2 separate regions of the Homo sapiens genome follow, and region 2 is linked to region 1. The links are contacts of gene promoters, found by promoter capture Hi-C in blood cells and fetal thymus (Javierre and others, 2016). All regions are on one chromosome and are shown on one strand. Each heading gives the region's core, a stretch centred on a gene start or on the middle of the fragment in contact. The rest is flanking DNA. Distances are from core to core; before and after follow the strand shown. Region 1 holds the start of LYPLA2 (lysophospholipase 2). Region 2 overlaps SRSF10 (serine and arginine rich splicing factor 10).

Region 1 (4,419 bases), core at 29-2,528:
CCACAGGACCTGAGCTTGCTGGAGACAGGCAGAGGCAGGGCATAGGGACTGTAGGGCAGGGGGCAGAGGGGAGGCAGCGGCACGCCTGCTTCATTCCCCCTCTAACTCCTCAGGGGTGAGTGCCTTCCCCCTCCTCTCCAATCATCCCTGGGTCCCTGCCTCCCCAACTCCGGGCCCTATGGGAAATGGAGAGAAAAGTGCCAGGGAAAGGAGCTTCCATCCCCTACTCAGTGCCGCCTCCAACCCCCATCTCAACCTCCCCCCACCCAGCCCCCATCCAGCCTTCACAGCAGTTTCTGGCCCATCCATTCCCAGACCCCCAGGGGGCTGCCCATGTCCCCAGAAAGCGTAAGAACTCCACCCACCCCCAAACTGGTGCTCCACGCCCCCCCTAAACGGAGCTACCTGCTGCTGCTGCCACTGACTGCAAACGAGCCCTGGCTTGACCACGCTCTGGGACTCCCAAACACACAAAAGAATGTCAGGCTGGCTGGCCCCTCCCCATCCTCGGCGTCCTCCAAACTCGCCGGAAGCTTCCACTACCTGCCTCAAGTGCCTGCCCACCCCTCCCAACTGGCCTCACCTTCCATCTCTGACCCCTGAGGGCAGCTCCCCACAATGGGATCGTTCACCTGTGACCCGGGGTTCCTCTTCCCATGGGGAATGCACCTCCTGCCCTGAGCTGCGATTCCCTTCCTTCTCCACCGTGGGGACTTGCACCTCCCGCCCAGGCTCCCTCCTCGGAGGGGTGCCTTCCCCCTGACCTGTCTCTCTCTATACACCTTGAGAACTTCCACCCTGACCCAGGATCTCCCGCTCCCCACAATGGGAACTTCTGTTCTGACCAAAGGTCACCCTACCCAGTGAAATTTTCTACCCTGACCCAGGACTCCCACCTGCCCACAATAAAGCTTTGTACCTTTGACTCTGGGGAAGCCCCCGCCCCACAATGGGCTCTTCTATTTCCGACCCTGAAGTCTGTCTCTTTATACTCAGACACCCCCTTGCCTAGCCCCGCTCCACTCCCGAAGTCCCCAAGACTGGACAGCGCCTTCGCACCTCACTCCCCACCCCCATCCCCCCCATCACGGTTCCCCCTCCCCGCTCTCCGGGACCCTCCCGAGGCCGACCTCCCCCTACACGCCCATCCTCCGCAGCCGCCGGCTGGGTACCTCCACTCCCTGGGACTTCCGAGGCCGCTTGGGCGATTCTCCTCTTTCTCCCGCAGACACACTCTTCCCCCTCGGCCGCCCCCGCCGGAACTTCCGTTCGAGTCCCGGGAACCCAGCCATCGCGCTGCCGGAAGTAGCCTGGCCGACAGTACGGAACCCGGAAGCGGGGACCCGGCTTCGCTGGATAGAAGCTGCCATGTTGGAGGCGGCGGGGCTACTCCCTGTCATTCAGCCGCGCAGTCGCTGGGTTCTCACCCGCTCCCACCTTGTAGATTCGAGACAGGGCACCCAAGACTCCCACTTGCTACCACCACCCATGCGCCTCCTGGAGGAGGGCCGACCGGAAGGAGAGGCATCCCTCACACTATTGTTTGCATAAACTTTACCACCTTCCCATCCTCATGGGACACACCTCTTAAGGCCTCGGGTGTCTGCCACTGGCTTTCATGCCCTATTCCAGGATCATGAATGGAATGACACACTCTGAACCGAAGAGACCTTACAGATCATCTAGTTCTCCAGCCTTGAAGATGGGGAAACTGAGGCTCAAGGAAGGCATGTAAACAGCAACCTCGGGATTCCATTTAAATTCTGCCTCTCTGGATCTGCTTCCTGATATATAAAATGGTAATAACCACCCTGCCTCCTTCACAGCTTTGTTGGTAGGCTTAAATGAGGTTGTGTGAACATGGTTTATACAGTAAAATCACAGCGTGAGGTGTTAATCACGCAAAAAAGGACCTAGGAAAAATACAAAGGCCGTATCAGGAGAGCTGGACAGGCACTGGCAGTGTTAGCGCTGCCCTTCACAAGCAATGTCATGCAGACAGTGCACAAAACGCTGCCATCAAGCTGAAGTGGAAATAGGTATCAGGGACCACAGAAAAGTCAGAAGGCAGGCAAACTGAGTTGAAGGAGCATGTCCCTGAGAATGTGTGGGGATCTGCAAATAGGAAATGAGTCACACTTGACCCTCAGCCGCTTAGGACTCACTCTCCCAGCCTAACCTATACTAGTGTTTTCTTTGAACAGAAAGAAAACAGTACAGCCAGGCGCGGTGGCTCACTCCTGTAATCCCAGCACTTTGGGAGGCTGAGGCGGGCGGATCACGAGGTCAGGAGATCGAGACCATCCTGGCTAACACGGTGAAACCCTGTCTCTACTAAAAATACAAAAAATTAGCCTGGCGCTGTGGCGGGCGCCTGTAGTCCTAGCTACTCGGGGGGAGGCTGAGGCAGGAGAATGGCGTGAACCCGGGAGGCGGAGCTTGCAGTGAGCCAAGATAGTGCCACTACACTCCAGCCTGGGCAACAAAGCGAGACTCTGTCTCAAAAAAAAAAAAAAAAAAAAAAGAAAGAAAAGAAAAAGAAAACAGTACAAAGTTGGAAGCTCAACAAAGCACTTTCCCCCAGGCCCAGAGGCACTTTGGTCCTAAGTACTCAACAGGTCAGGGAGCCTACAATACCAGGATTCGGGGCAGGAAACCTTTGAGCCTATGGGACCACCACAAGCCAAGGACCCAGGACTGAATGTCAAAAGAAAATGGAGGGTAATGTCCCCACTTATGGAAGAATGAACAGTTCCTCCTGCAACCTCGATCACCTGAGACACCATGACACTTAAAACAAATTCTTCAGAGTGAAGCTTCAAATTCAGAGGCTCAGTCCCAGGAGCTGTGATTAATGCTTTAATTAGTGGAATTAGTGAAGGGCTAGTCTGCTCTAAGATTTTTAACTTTATTTTTCCCCCTACTCCAAATTTAAACATAGCCCTTCTTTTAACTCCAAAAAATGATCCAACTGAAATAAAGAGGCTGTGGCTGAGTGAATAGGACCCTTCATGCTTTTCAAGAACAGCATTTGCATTCTGGTTTATTTCAGGCTGCATTTTAGAAATTTTGAGGGCCAACAAGGTTTGGTGGTAGCAGACCTTTCCTAGGACAGGCTGGAGAAACAGTGGCTATATCCTCCAAACAACAGCATGGGCCAATGCCTCAGAGGAATTCTCCCAAAAGGATCAGATTCAACACTAATTCCCTTTATTACCTGTTCCTGTTTTCTGCAAGGGAGAGAATACTGACCATATCAAATCCCCTTTTTAGATACTTACATTCTCTTCAATTGCTAAACTGACTTTCAAAATTTAAGTCCAAAGTCTTTGGTCTACCTGGAGACCACATGAGCTGCTCAATTACTTTCCTCACCCTCATTTCTTCTGATGAGCTCCAAAATCTGTTCTCCCTTATTTTTGTAAATGTCATTCTACAAATCACTTCCTTTTGTGCAAAATGAAATATAGGGTTTTGTTGTTGTTGTTTTGAGACAAGGTCTCACTCTGTTGCCTCAGGCTGGGGTGCAGTGGCGCAATCATGGCTTACTGTAGCCTCGACCTCCTGGGCTCCAGTGATCCTCCCACCTCAGCCTCCCAAGTGGCTGGGACTACAGGTGCACGCCACCATGCCCAGTTAATTTCTGTGAAATACAGGTTTTCAACCCCACCTTCTTCTTTACTATATATGGGTGTAGGAGTGTTTTTGGCCTACTGTACAAAATTAAGCTTGACCATTCCTGGAGAAACTGATCCAGTCTTGATTTTTTTTTTTTTTTTTTTTGAGACGGAGTCTCACTCTGTCACCCAGGCTGGAGTGCAGTGGTGCAATCTCAGGTCACTGCAAGCTCCGCTTCCCGGGTTCATGCCATTCTCCTGCCTCAGCCTCCTGAGTAGCTGGGACTACAGGCTCCCGCCACCGCACCCGGCTAATTTTTTGTATTTTTGGTAGAGACGGTTTCACCGTGGTCTCGATCTCCTGACCTCGTGATCCGCCCACCTCGGCCTCCCAAAGTGCTGGGATTACAGGCGTGAGCCACCGCGCCCGGCTCCAGTCTTGATTTAATTGTGGCACTTCCTATAATCTACCTAGTCCAAAACAACAACAAAAAATTTCAAAGTTCAGTACAGTTCCCCATGAAATGAAAGTTGCATCAGTGGCTATCAAGAACTCAAAAGAAAATACAAACATTAAGTCTGGCAAGGATTTATTAGGAAGCTTATTAGTCACAGTGAATAAAAGCCATGAAAAGAAGAACTCAAATCTCCAAATTCTGGCATCGGACTTACAACACTAGTTAGAAGCTAATAAACATTAAGGAATTTCCAAGGGGAATCTTAACTAAGTCTCAATCTTACTGACCAGATTACCCACACACATAGAAATGATCCCCATGCTCTCCCCAGACTGCTTAGCTAG
Region 2 (3,994 bases), core at 773-3,272, 170 kb before region 1:
GGAAACTAATCCCTAAATATGAATAGGTTTATATTGATTCATGGGTAACAGGTCCATAATAAATTATTGGAAACTAGGATGTCTGAATATCAAGGAAGACAGCCATAGTCTCTTACAGTGCCTCTGTTGGTCTGTCTCAAACTGAATTGGGTGGGAAAAGGTATGGTCCAATATAAAAGTTCCATTTTTGCCATTATTGGCAAATCTTGCCTTTGTTTATTTTGGTGCCAGTGTTTTCTGCTTAATCATTTGCTTTGTTGGCATCTGTGTTTATTTACTTGTACACCACATGCAGTTTACATCTGTCTTAACTACTCCTTCCCAGGTAAATTCCAATTATATTTGACATCCAGCTAAGAGGGCCCATCTCTTCTCACCTCTTTCCTAGTCAGTATATTCAGCAAATATTTATTGAGCCCTTACTGTGGGCAAATCATTGTACTGGATAATTGAGAAAAATAGATAATTCCCTTATTCAGTAAATGTCTACTGAGCACAATCTAGTGAATCATTACAGTATGGCCTCATTGTTTTGTTTGAGGTGTGTTATTCATAACAATATTTTACACCATTCGTATCAATGTAATTATAGAACACAATATACGATCAAGGATAAGTAATTGTGTGGTTATCTGCCATTTAAAAGTATCCAGTATTTGATCACATTATTATAAATAATGAAAAAATGATTTAATCTGTAATAAACTGGTTTATTGTGCAGTGACTGTAATATACTAGAGTTATAATAAATTGTTTACTCTGCCTCACCAAACACATGCTAGGATATAACCCCCAAAATAAGTATTTAACTTTGCATTAGGTATAAAGGAGACTGGGTGCTATAATTAGATTATTTTGAGGCAGACAGAGAGCTGTTATCCTAACTGATTTAGTATGTTCTGTAATTGAGAAAATGTTCACCAAATTATACTTTTTAGTGATTTACATGTACATTTTATAGGGGACATGTTCTGTGTATAGCGAATAAATAACTTTTATAGTATCACAAAATGTTTTGGATTCCTTAGTTTCTTATTAGGATATGATGTTTCTTTACCTATACATTGATTTCATCACATTTGATTTTTGTCATCTTTTTTGCCACATACTTAAAATTTTCCATATAAAATTAACTAAAAATCTGGAAGTGGAATTTAAGCTTTTAATTTGTAGCAATTTTGAAAATATAGCAGAGGTATATTTTCAAGGGAGGTGTGAAATGGAGGTATTATTGTTTGTATTTTATTTTAGAAATTTTGTTTGAACTTGCCCAAGATCACACAGCAAGTGTCAGATCCTAGGTTACAGCCCATAATTTTTCACTTGTTTCATCTTTTGTTACCATGTTTGTTGTTTAATCCAATGGGGAAGTGTTTTTATAGCTTTATTTTCATGGAGATAGTAACATTGATATAATGGGATCTAGAATTTACTTAGAGTCAAAGTGACTAGATTTAATTACAAAAAGTATTTTGTTGTATACCGTTATACACTCATTAACATAGGGGTTCTTATGGACAGAGGTTCTATGTATTTTTAAAAGAATATGTAGAGGCTATAGACTTTTTTGCCCTCTACCTCCCTTCTCCATTTCCTTTTGAAGTTAAGACATTTAAGGGGGAGAATTAAGGTGCATATTGAGTTGGGGTTTTGTTTAAAAAAAATTAGGTAAATACATATATAACTACAATAACAACAGTTGGTAGTTCTCTAAAATATTTAATTATGGTAAATCAGAAAAGGCCCTTTAATTTTTGCATCTGTTGAATGAATTGCTTTAGGATCTCTTCTGTGGTTGTTTCTCTCTATACTGAATGCTGTCAATATTATTGAGCACTTACTGTGCCGAACCATGTGCTTTTCAAATATTTCTATTTAATCCTAAAAACACTCCTGGGAAATGGGTATTATTCCCATTTTACAGATGAGAAAATTGTCCTTTGTAGAATACCCATCATGTGATAGCTTCTTGCATATTATGCTATTCATTTCTCACAACCTTACAAGGTAAATGGATAATGTTCCTGGATGAGAGATTAAACGTACTCGAAGATCTTATGGTTGTGTGGCTCAGAGACTCTAAGCATGGCTTTCCAAATCTCATTCTCTTGTAGAGATTTTCCATTGTATTGCATTTTGACCATGTTCCTGTTTACAAAACCTAAGATTATATTCTGAAGTATCTGTGACTTGAGTGATAGCTCAGGAATAATCTGAGGGCATTCTATTAGGAAGGAGGACTAGCAAAGCCTATAGTTAGCCTATCCTAGGCATGAACTATTCTCATTTTAGATAGGATGACTTGATAAATAGGATGAAGTGAGCAACCTGTTTGTCTTCGGTTATTGCTATCTACAAGACATTCTGCTAGTCACTGTGGAAAAGTTTCCTTCTCTTGGGTTTTTTCCTCTTCCCCTTCCTCTTAACAGTGTTGGTTATCTTTATTATGTTTCTGTGTATTTGTAACAGCTGTTTCACCCTTGTATTGCATAATGGGGATTTTTCTTGGAATAAAAAGTGAGGCATGTAAATTCATTGAGAACTAACCGTAGTTTGTAAAGAAGTAAAAGGCCTTTGTATCTAGTTTTTTGCAGATCACATTTCTTTGAATGCTGGAAAGTGAAATAAACTGGTCTAGGAGCCAAAAATAAATCTTGGGTTTTTTTAAGATTTTGCTCTTAGATTTGTAACCACCTGGGTACAACTTTTTCCTAATTTGTGTAAGAGGTTTTAGAGATGCACTCTGTCCCTCTTGCTTTACAAATTGCCTACAAGAATGCAACCAAAATACTAGAAACTGAAACTTACACAAAACCTTTCAGGTTTTTTCCTGTGTTGTAGTTCTAGGGAAGAGGATAGTTTATTAGTATTTATTTTAAGCTTAAGGATAGGTTTTGGACCTGGATTCCATCATAGTATAACTGCCATCGAAAAGAAGACAAATTGAAATTACAGCATTTACCTAAGGTTCACAGTATGGCTGACTTCAGCAGCCTTACATGGTAAGTTCTCTGTACCAGCTATTTTTGGTTCTCGCAATTGCATCGACTTGGGAAATTCCTATCACCATTCTCTATATAGGCTAACCAAAACTTTTATCAGTACCTTTCCTAAAGTATGAAGTTAGGTAATCTTCCACTCCCACTTCCATTTACTCATTTTGCTTGAGTCAAACCAAAAATCTAGTGTATTACTAGATTAGTCACTAAAAATCTAGTGTATTCAATATATACACTAGATTCAATATATAGCTTAAAAACTAACAGACACCTAGGCTGAGATTTGTCCAATACATGAAGTTCAATTCTGCAATCCTTGGCATTGTTCACAGAAATTACCCTGGAAACAAAATGAACACCCAAATGCTGGTTCTGCCTTAACTCCAAATTGTTAACTAGTTTGCATGAAAATAATACAGCTTTGCCATGGGACTAGTTGTAGCATTTTAAGGATTACTCAAACTAGTTTTAAGATGCCCTATCATTTGGAATCTGTATCAGAAAGGTGTGGTTGTGATGCTTTTCTTCTGAGGGGTCCCCTTATATACTTTTCATTTGTCAACATACTTAAAACACAAGGGTTCTTGTCAACTTGATAAATTTGCTTATAATTTTTTTTCTATGAACCTAGATCATGGAATTAACTTTCAAAAGCTTTGCGATGTTTTCCATGTGTGGCCTTTTTTTTGCTTTTTAATTAACACTACTGGGAGAGAGAAATCCTAAGTAGTTGCTTAACTGCATAGCTGTCAAATCCTAGTATCTTCTGTATCAGTCAGCAAACTAGTTGCCCCTTTTCAAGCCAACAGTCCTATCACATTTTAGTTGTGACCTTTTTTATATATACGTATATATATATGATCAGAAATGTAGTGGTTCATAGTTCTGGAGTCTGAGAAATCCAAGAGTTTGGAATATTGTGAGTGTATTATGAGCTTCAAGTCAGTGACAAGTAAAACACATTTTTAAAAAGAATATTAAGCAATCAAAACCAT

What was found. Contacts are between HindIII fragments. The CHiCAGO score rates a contact against its expected background, and 5 or more counts as called.
Region 2: a fragment that was not itself captured here is called in contact with the fragment with the promoter of LYPLA2 in region 1 in 5 of 17 cell types (fetal thymus, neutrophils, monocytes and 2 more); the score reaches 6.4 in fetal thymus.

The regions. Positions count from the first base shown.
Region 1 is chr1:23,788,004-23,792,422 of GRCh38, reverse strand. It overlaps LYPLA2 (lysophospholipase 2), which reads right to left and starts at 1,278. Exons shown (of 10, transcript NM_007260.3): 1 at 1,173-1,278. LOC105376860 (a long non-coding RNA gene) reads left to right here. Exons shown (of 2, transcript XR_947067.3): 2 at 1,633-1,809. PITHD1 (PITH domain containing 1) reads right to left here. Exons shown (of 6, transcript NM_020362.5): 6 at 4,191-4,419. RefSeq lists a silencer at 1,041-1,100. The HindIII fragment of the contact is 1,905 bases long and covers 914-2,818 here.
Region 2 is chr1:23,963,462-23,967,455 of GRCh38, reverse strand. SRSF10 (serine and arginine rich splicing factor 10) reads left to right here. Exons shown (of 6, transcript NM_054016.4): 6 at 1-3,109. It overlaps PNRC2 (proline rich nuclear receptor coactivator 2), which reads right to left. Exons shown (of 3, transcript NM_017761.4): 3 at 3,994. Among named protein-coding and RNA genes, the nearest start is that of PNRC2, 5.6 kb to the right of the region's middle. The HindIII fragment of the contact is 1,721 bases long and covers 1,162-2,882 here.